Regions from separate parts of the Homo sapiens genome. Here region 1 is linked to region 2. The links are contacts of gene promoters, found by promoter capture Hi-C in blood cells and fetal thymus (Javierre and others, 2016). All regions are on one chromosome and are shown on one strand. Each heading gives the region's core, a stretch centred on a gene start or on the middle of the fragment in contact. The rest is flanking DNA. Distances are from core to core; before and after follow the strand shown.

Region 1 (4,583 bases), core at 399-2,898, 1.2 Mb before region 2:
GAAGAAAACATCCAGTGAGAAATCCCCAGGAATGGTCAAGGAAATTTTGAGAGTGACCTCAAGCAAATTGCTTCCTGTTTTCTATTGCGTGCTATGATCCTTTCTCTGTGACCCCCGCCTCTCCAGTGCCCAATAAAATTATGTCGTGCTGATTGCTTTTATGGAAATGTTTGTGGGAGAAGGATCTGCTGGCCACGTGGGACAGACCAGAGCAAACAGAGGAGGGCAGCTGCAGAACGGCCTTGTCTCCAGGAGACGGTGCTGTTGGGGGCAGGTACAGGAGGGAGCCCTGTATTCTGCTGAGGCACACAGGGCATGAAAGATGACCTGTGGGAAGTTCCTTGCCTGGGCTTCCCTGAGGACACCCCAGTTCCTTCTCCAGACGCCTTACTCGGGAATATTCCCTGACCCTATGTGGCTCTGCCAAGGGCATCACTGGGACAGACCTGCTGTGGCAACTGCACTCCTTTTCTGGGCCTCCAGGAGGAAGGCAAAATGACTGGCTTCTCAGCTGGCTGCTCCTGATTTGCCCTTCTGGACTCATAGGTCTCAGGCCCAAGGGAAAATGAAATATGGGCTTAAAAGAGGGGGTGGGAGAACAGATCCATCTGATAACTCCATCATGTGTTGCTAACCAGCCACATCCTGCCAGCGCTCTGCAAAACTGCACTTCCTTTTTAGTAACCTGGCTTCCTCCTCCCTCCTTCACTTTCACCCCTCCTACTCAACATCCCGTCTCCACCGCTACCCCTCCTGAAGCTTGCCAACCCTCACTGTAGATTGTTTTAGGGGATTTCCAGAGGCCCCCTCCCACCTGCCCACGGTGTGCTTAAGGGAAGGGCCAGGGCCCCTGCAGGGCCATTCCGTGATGGGGGAGACAGCTTCTGGGTAAGGATGGGAAACTCAGCATTGCATAGTGGGTAACTGTGACCCACTAGCAATGTGAACTTGAGCGAGTTTCTCAGTTCCCTCTTTGCACAACTGGGACTCTCACCATCAGGTGGTTGTAAGATTTAATTGACACAATGTACATGAAAGTACTCAGTGTGGTTAGCCTGCGCATAAAATGGTTCTAGACACAGCAGCTGTCTGTCAGTCAGTCTGCCTTTTATGCAAGGGGTGGAAAGGAGGGCTTTAAGGGGCCTGATGGGGAAAGATCATGGCAATGAATGCTAATATGCCTGAGATGCTGTCAGGTACTTGCCTTAAGTGGTTACCTTTAATCCTCACAATAGCCCTTGGAAGGAGCCACTCCTCCCGGGTTTAAGCAATTCCCTGCCTCAGCCTCCTGCGTAGCTGGGATTACAGGCACCTGCCACCATACCCGGCTAATTTTTGTATTGTTAGTAGAGACAGGGTTTCACCATCTTGGCCAGGCTGGTCTTGAACTCCTGAGCTCATGATCCACCCGGCTCAGCCTCCCAAAGTGCTGGGATTACAGGCATGAGCCACCGTGCCAGGCCCCTTTTTAGTTATTTAAGCCACTATTCTCCCTACAAGCAGGACACTCAAAGATCCACATGCAAAGACTGAGACCCTGCAGGGGCCCTGGTATTTTTCCTTCATGGTGAGTGAAAAATGACACAAGAAAGGAACCTTAAATTCCAGTGTGTTATGGGTGGGAACCCAGATGCCAGCAAGCAGGACTGGGACTTCAATTATCTGTCAACCTTCAAACCCATCTTTTCATGGTCAGTCCTCAGCTGAGTCCTAGGCAACAGTTTCTCTCTGGTGGAGCAGGAGAAACTTTCATTCTGGCCCTGCTAACACTAACTTGCTAATTTGCCCATGCTCAAGATTTGAGTCTGGTCCTGGAAACACTCAACCTGTGGACCCATCCTCTTACCTGGCCACAGGTGGGTGGGGTGTGCCCAGAAGAGCATGAGGAGTTCTCTCTCTCTTCCAGACTCTTCTGAGGGTCACTGTCACTTTTAAAGTATTTTCTGGGTGGAGGCTTGGGCTTGGAGGACATAGGCTTTCTCACCAAAATCTCAAAGGATTTCTTCAGTCTCAGCGGCGGGTGGCTGTCCCGGCTCTCTGGGAGGGGTGGGCTCTCCTGGGGCAGCCTGGAGGATGCTATAGAAAGCACCACTGGCTCCCGTGCCAGAGGCAAGCTGGGGCTGTGTGTGCTGATGTCCACGTCAGAGGACGGCTTCTCAGCACTGCCACTCCCAGGACTTCCCCCTGGGGACCCAGACATGTAGCTGCTGTCACTGCTGGAGCGGATCATGACCTTCTGAGCCCTGCGATGCGGGGGTGCTGAGTTCTTCTCTCGTTCCTTCTCCAAGGTGGGCCGCCCGTGCCAACTGCTTTCCAGCCTTTTGACACCTGTGTGGGAAGCACAAGAGAATCTTCACAGCTGAGCTTCAGAAAACAGAAATACCCCCTGGCCTCACCTGTGACTGCCACGGGCAGCACACTGCACATCGGCCATCTGCTTCTTATCTGAAGTCACTGTGGATCTGGAGTATGGCAGTCTTGGTGTTGGTCCCTGGCGAGCTGTATGACTTTGGGTTGGGAAAATCATTCAAGCTTTCTGAGCCTATGACTGATGTATATGGAGATATGCCACCCAGATCACCCATCGAGGAAGGGCTTGGTGTCCCAGCTGTGGGGAGTGCTGCTGGCAGACTACTTTCAGCTGTGGGTCCCTCCAGGGGCTGCCACAGCTGCAGACAGCTGCCTTGTCCAATGGGGCAGCCCATCTCCAGGGACTGCTGGAGATAGGGTTACAGAGGCCCAGCTATGTTGGCCAACATAGGACAACTCTAATGGGGACTTTGGCTGCAGAGCTCCAGGGCTTGGCTGAAGCTGTTGGGTGTGCACCTCAGCTCCGTCCTCCCTCTGTCTACCCTGCCTGCTCCCCTCCCTGCCACAGGTAGTGAACCCCAGGACACTGCCTGCAGACCAAACTCCATCTCAGAGTCAGCTTCCTGGGGGACCCAACTCCATTTCTGCATCTGTAAAATGAGGATGATAATTTTAAAGTCACTGGGGTTATTTTGAGGCTCAATAACAAAGACAGAGAAACTACCTGTCAAGGCACTTTGAATCTTACACGAAGAAGTCACTATTTCTTTCCAGTTGAGGGTGAGGTGAGGGCAGAAAGCCGCTATTTCTTAGCCACTGCACCTTCCTCCCTCCCTCCCCATTAGCCCTTCCTGGTTCTCAGTACCCCCTACCCTAGTTTCCAGCACTAGGGCTACCCACACATCCTTGAGAGGCCCTTCTCTCTAGTGGTAAGCTGTCAAGGGTGCCCCTTTCCTAAAATCACAGCTTGAAGGGGTGGGAGAGGATTGAAATCTAGTCTCTTGCTCAAATTCCAGCTCATTCTGAGAGACCAAGAAAGCCAGAGGAGCCCCATGAGAGAGAACCAAGGCCAGCCAAGCTCCTAACTCACTTTCTCTTTAAATAAAAAGTTTTCTTTTTTTTTTTCCTGATCATGAAATAATGCATCCTCCTTAGAGAAAACTCAGCCACAAGGAGGAAGGAATGAAAGTAAAAATTCACTTCACCTGTGTTCCTATCAGCCAGAAATAACTACTGTCAAAATTTTGGTGAGTTTCTCTGTCATGCTTTCCCGAGCATATATGCATGTTGGGTGGGTAGAAATAATAAACCAGAGCTGAAATAAATTGTGTTCTGTTCTTTTCTCTGAACATTTCCCCAGATCATTTAATTTCTTGTCAATATCAGTGCCAATGGTTGCATGTTGTTCTTTCATAAGGATGTTCCATGGTAGACGTGATTAATGCCCAATGGCTAGGCATGGGAGTCAAGCCAGCTGGATCTCCATTCCAGAGCCTCTGTGCTCTAGTGGTATGACTTTGAGTAAGAGAGTCTCTGAGGGCCTCACTTTTTCTTATAAAATTTGCATAAAAATTATGTGTGAATGCATGAATTAGCATAGTCTCTGATTTATTATAAGAATTATAAGAATTAAATAAATGTCAGAATTATATTCCCAAATGTTAGTTTTTCTAATATTCTATTATTATAAACTAGGGGCTGCAAACTCAAGTGCCTGCAGGGGCTATTGTGTGAATGGCAACTTGGTACAGGATAAAGGGAACGGTGGAGACCACCGGGAGCTGGAGAGAGCCTGGCACATTTGTAGCAATTTAAATTCAGATGCTTTTAAAATCTTGTGTCTTCCAAACAAAGCAAAAATATAAGCTAAATTTAGCTGGTGGGCTGCTAGTTTTCAGCCTTTGTCTACATACTATGCTGGTCTATGGTAAATGCTGTTACTATTCCTTGGATAGAGGATGAGTTAATGGATAAATCCTAAGCTTTCTAAGAAGGCAAAGATATTTTACATCAAAGTTCACCATTTGTCTTACCTTCCAGACTCCACTGATGCCTCTCCTTTCCAAACTTGGTGTTTTCCACAGCCTGGGCCACAGCTTCTTTGAGTTGCTGTTCAGAGACCTAGAAAATATCAGTCATCTCCTCAAACAAACAGTAGAAGCTCCTGCATCAGGCTCCCAGCCCCGTACCAGCTCCAAAGCTGGGCCACTGGATTCTAAATTATTTTATTTCAACCCACTCTGCAAATAGCTGATGAATTCCATTTCCAGAAA
Region 2 (5,070 bases), core at 8-2,507:
CCGGCTTTTTTTTGAGACGGAGTCTCCCTCTGTCGCCAGGCTGGAGTGCAGTAGCGCGATCTTGGTTCACTGCAACCTCCGCCTCCCGGGTTCAAGCGATGCTCCTGCCTCAGCCTCCCAGTAGCTGGGACTACCGGCGCCCGCCACCACACCCAGCTAATTTTTGTATTTTTAGTAAAGACAGGGTTTCACCATGTTGGCCAGGATGGTCTCGATCTCCTGACCTCGTGATTAGTCCGCGTCGGCCTCCCAAAGTGCTGGGATTACAGGCGTTGAGTCACCGCGCGTGGCCAATTCTGCCCAGTTTTTATGGCCCAACAACTTAATATAAATTATCTTTAGGTAACCCCAAGGTCCTAACTTCCTCACAACTGGTTACAACTTCCGAGATGTGAAGGTAAATCATAGCGTCCCAACTGTGTAGGATAGTTAGCACGTGACTTAAAAACCAAGTTAAAAAGATTTCAAACACAATATTCTTTCATACTTTTTTAGGTAGCTAAAACTTAAATATAACTATTTCAAAAAAGCAGACAAAAAATTTAGAATCCTAAGCAAGCTAAACCCAAGCAGGAAAAAAAGAGACCAATTCCCTTCCCGGTGCCAGTCAGGAGTTGGAGACACCGGGCTGCCTCCGGCTGGTTTCTGAAAAACGCCGCAGGTGGAAAAACATCCCGAAGAGGACCTGAGACTCGGAGGAGGCGGGGAACTGACGCGCCCCAGTGTGCCCGGGGCCCTTCCGACCCCCGCCAGCCAACCGCTCGCAACCCGCTCGGGGCGGCGCGCGTCGCGGCCTCCGCGGCCCTGAAGAACTGAGGCTCCCGACCCCAGCGCGACCACCCTGACAGGAAGCGGCCCCCGGCCGCGGGCGCCCGCGCGCCGTCTGAGGTGAACCCGCCGATCTCCGGCCCCCACCCCCGGAGCCGGGAGTCCTCGCCCTCTCGCCCGCGGCCCCCGCGGGCCCACCACCTGCTGCGCCGGCCGGCCGCCCTCCGCTTCCGGCTCTCGGGCGCCGGGAGGGGCCGGGGGCGGGCCTCGCCTAGCTGCAGCCGGGTGGGGGAAGGGAGCAGGCGGGGGAGGGGCAGCGCCGGGCAAGCCGGGCCCCGCGGGCCGCGCTCCTCACCTGGCGGCGGGTCTCTCCGCCTGACACGCTGCGCGCCGCCGCCGGTAGCCGCCGGTGAATGGGTACAGGTAATGCCGCCGAACCCCTGCTTGCTCCGGCTCCGCCACCGCCGGCCCCTCCGTCCGCTGTTTATTAAACTTTTCTGTTTGGTTGTTCGGCCTATGACGCGACCGCGGAGGAGAGCCACTGGATTGGCCGGCTCCCGCGGCTGACGCGCGGGCCCCGCCCGCCCGCTAATTATTACCGGCGCGGGCGGGGCCGCAGGCCGGAGGAGGCGGGGAGAGGCGGGGTCAAGGCTCGGAGCGCACGGCAATTGGCCGGAGGCAGGAAAAGAGGCGGGGCGGAGCGAAAGGAGATGCTCCTCCGCCTTCTGCACCTCCAGTGTCCCTTGCTCCACTGCCCTCTCTGGGGCGCTTCCCGCCGCGGTTTCTCTACCTCCAATAGCTACGGGAAGGCGATTAAGAGGTGCCGCGGAGACTTTAAGGGCTTGGTTATGTAGGTTCAGGTACCTTTGCCACCTCGCAGGGAATGGCGTGTCCCTGTCTTGGACTGAGGCACCAAAAAGAGTTGCACTCCACCTGCCACTTGTGCAGGAAGGAATTCTGAGCTTCTGTCTTCCCATGCAGGCCGGCGCCTCAGTCTGCAAGCGCAAAGTCCGAGCTCAGGGCGCATACTGGAAAGCAGTTCTCTGCCCTGTCCTGAACTGGGACTTGGAAATAGAAGCAAGACGAGAAGCGTGCATGCACACGTGTGCAATACATACATGCACAGGCACAAGCACCCCCAGTTCCAGCCTGTTCCAAAAGCACGGGGTCAGTTCCCACCTGCGTGGTGCACGCTGGGCTGCTGCGCTGGAACTAGGGGTGATAGGCAGAATGGCTCCCCCTGAAGTTTTTCAGCCTTCGTTCGGGCTCACGAGCATCACGAGCAGGAAGTACGTGACACTTTAGTTCGAGGTCATTCAATCCTATTGTGAATGAGGAGTTCCGTTAGGGCATCCAGGTAGGCGAGCCCAGTCCTGAGAATCCTCTTTATTTTAAATGTTGGTATTTTGTTATTCATGGATTTTTTTTTTGCATTAATTTTAATTTTAAAAAATAAAAATGTTATTCATCTTGATCACTTAGTTTTTTGGTGCTCCCTTAAATGTTGTGCCTGAAGTGAGTACCTGTTGAGCATTTAGCAACACAGAAGTCACCTTGGGGAGTACAGTTTAAGTGGAGGACAAAAGCCTGATTGGAATGGTAATAAAACCTACTTGTTAGGCTATTTGTGGGGGTTAAATAACATAATATGTGTGAAAGAGCTTCTTGAACTAGCAAGGTTATGCGTCAAGTCTTACGGATTTTGTCTTAAATGTATTTTTCTTCCGATTCTTGTCCAGTTTATCGTTGTATTAACTCCAGCACCTAACCCAGTTGGATTTTCATATGCAGTTATTATGAATTTGCAGAAATTGGGTTTACATGACCTTTACTGCTTTCCTTTGTTCCAGATTCGTTCTGGGAGATTGAGAGATTATAGTATTGCATTGTGACGTGGAATGCAGACAGACCACTGTCACTTACTAGCTTTGTGCTCTTAAGAAAATTGTGTGAAATGGGAACGAAAACCTACCACAAAGGATTGTTATGAGGGTTAAAAGATACTGCATTTCTATTCACCCAGTAAATGCTATATGCCGACTCTCTGCCAGCCTGTGCTGTAGGTGCTGGAGACAGCATTAAGAAAGATGAAGGCCCTTCTCTCATTGACTTACACAGGGGAAGAGAGGGAGCAGAAACAATAAACAGTATACATACGCAACCTACCGGTCAGTGTACATAAACAACATATTCACAGCACCTGGTATGTAACAGATGCTCAATAAATGATTGTGTATGCATTATTATTTCCAGCCCCATCTTCTTTCCTGTGTTCCAGAGCAGGACATTCACTGTGTGCTTATCACAGCCATTCAATATGTCCAAGGCTTATTTTCCCCCAAACACATTCTTCCTCCTGTAGTCCCAATTTTGGCTAATGGTGACACCATGTTTCCAGTTATTAAAGCTAGAAACTCAAGCTTTATTGAGATTTAACACACATATCATTACAACTTACCCATTTTTAAAGAATACAATTTGCTGGGCGCGGTGACACATGCCGGTGGTCCCAGCTACTCAGGAGGGTGAGCTGGGAGAATTGCTCGAGTCCAGGAGTTCTGGGCAGTAGTGCACTGTACCCACTGGTGTCCACAGAGGGTGGGGGGCACCATCAAGTTGCCTAAGAAAGAGGACTCTGCCCAGGTCCAAAACAGAGCAGGTCAAAACTCCTGTGCTGATTAGTAATGGGATCATGGCCATTGCACTCCAGCCTGGGCAACATAGCAAGACTCTGTCTCCTATTAAAGAAAAAACAAAAAGAAAAATGAAAGAAATTATACAATTCAGTGGTTTTTAGTATATTCACAGTGGTGCAGTTATCACCACAAATCAGTTTCAGAACATTTTGTCACCCTATAAAGAAACCTTGGCAGGGTGCAGTGGCTCATGCCTGTAAATACCAGGGTTTTGGGAGGCCGAGGCAGGTGGATCACTTGAGGTCAGGTGTTAGAGAACAGACTGGTCAACACAGTGAAACCCTGTCTCTACTAAAAATACAAAAATTAGCCAGCCTTGGTGGTGCACACCTGTAGTCCCGGCTGCTTGGGAGGCTGAGGCAGGAGAATCACTTGAACCCGGCAGGCGGAGGTGGCAATGAGCCGAGATCACGCCACTGCACTCCAGCCTGGGTGACAGAGCAAGACTCCATCTCAAAAAAAAACAAAAAACAAAAAAACAACCTTGTACCTATTAGCAGTCACATTCCCCTTTCCCCCAATCCATGGCCCACCTCCACCCCTAGGCAACCATTAAGCTACTGTGTGTCCCTTAAGTTTTGCAAGTGATCCTTTGGCCTCAGCCTCCTGAGTAGCTGGGTCTATGGGTGCAAACTACCATGCCTGGCTAGTTTTGCCTGTTTTGGACATTTCATAAATATGTAGTCATATAATATGTGGTCTTTTGAGACTGGCTACTTTCACTTAGCATAAGGTTTTCAAAGTTCATCGTGTTGTAGTATGTATCAGCACTTTATTTCCTTTTATTGCTGAATATTTCACTGTATTAATATTTAATATAACACATTTATTCATTAATTTATAGACATTTGGGTTGTTGTCCACTTTTTGCCCATTATGTGAATAGTGCTCCTGTTCACATTTTTATCCAAGTTCTTATAGGGACTTTTTTTTTTAACAGATGAGGTCTCACTCTGTCACCCTGGTGAGGGTGTGGTAGCATGAACATAGCTCACTGACACCTCAACTACTGGACTCAAACCATCCTCCCACCTCAGCCTCCCAAGTAGCTGGGACTACGGGTATGCACCACCATGCCCAGCTAATTTTTTTTATTTTTTGTAGAGATGGGGTTTCACTATGTTGCCCAGGCTGGTCTCAAACTCCTGGGCTTAAGCAGTCCTCCCAGCTTGGCCTCTCAAAGTGCTGAGATTACAGGTGTACCACGCCCAGCCTGTTTTTATTTGTCTTGGGTATCTACCTAGGAGTAGGTAGACACTGCGTCATATGGTAACTCTGTTTAGCCATTTGAGGAACTGCCAGACTGTTTTCCATAGAGACTACACCATTTTACATAACCACCAGCAATGAGTGAGAGTTTCAGTTTCTCCACATCTTTGCCAACATTTGTTATAATCAGTCTTCTTGATTATAACTACCCTAGTGAGTATGAAGTGGTGTATCACTGTGGTTTTGCTTTGCATTGCCCTAATGGCTAATGATGTTGAGCATCTTTTCATGTGTTTATTGGCCATTTGGGTATCTTCTTTGAAGTAATGTCTATTCAGATCTTTGCCCATTTTTTAATTGGGTTGTTTGTCTTTTTATTGTTGGTCATAAGAGTTCT

The links. Contacts are between HindIII fragments. The CHiCAGO score rates a contact against its expected background, and 5 or more counts as called.
Region 1: a contact is called between a fragment that was not itself captured here and the fragment with the promoter of ZFAND6 in region 2, in 1 of 17 cell types (total CD4 T cells). The highest score is 5.0, in total CD4 T cells.

Annotation. Positions count from the first base shown.
Region 1 is chr15:81,290,301-81,294,883 of GRCh38, reverse strand. IL16 (interleukin 16) reads right to left here. Exons shown (of 19, transcript NM_172217.5): 11 at 4,344-4,431; 12 at 1,847-2,328. Among named protein-coding and RNA genes, the nearest start is that of STARD5, 32 kb to the left of the region's middle. RefSeq lists enhancers at 553-612, 643-732, 912-1,430, 2,243-2,372. The HindIII fragment of the contact is 1,773 bases long and covers 762-2,534 here.
Region 2 is chr15:80,055,863-80,060,932 of GRCh38, reverse strand. ZFAND6 (zinc finger AN1-type containing 6) reads right to left here and starts at 1,257. Exons shown (of 7, transcript NM_019006.4): 1 at 1,124-1,257. RefSeq lists silencers at 685-1,554, 1,251-1,579. The HindIII fragment of the contact is 4,474 bases long and covers 1-3,190 here.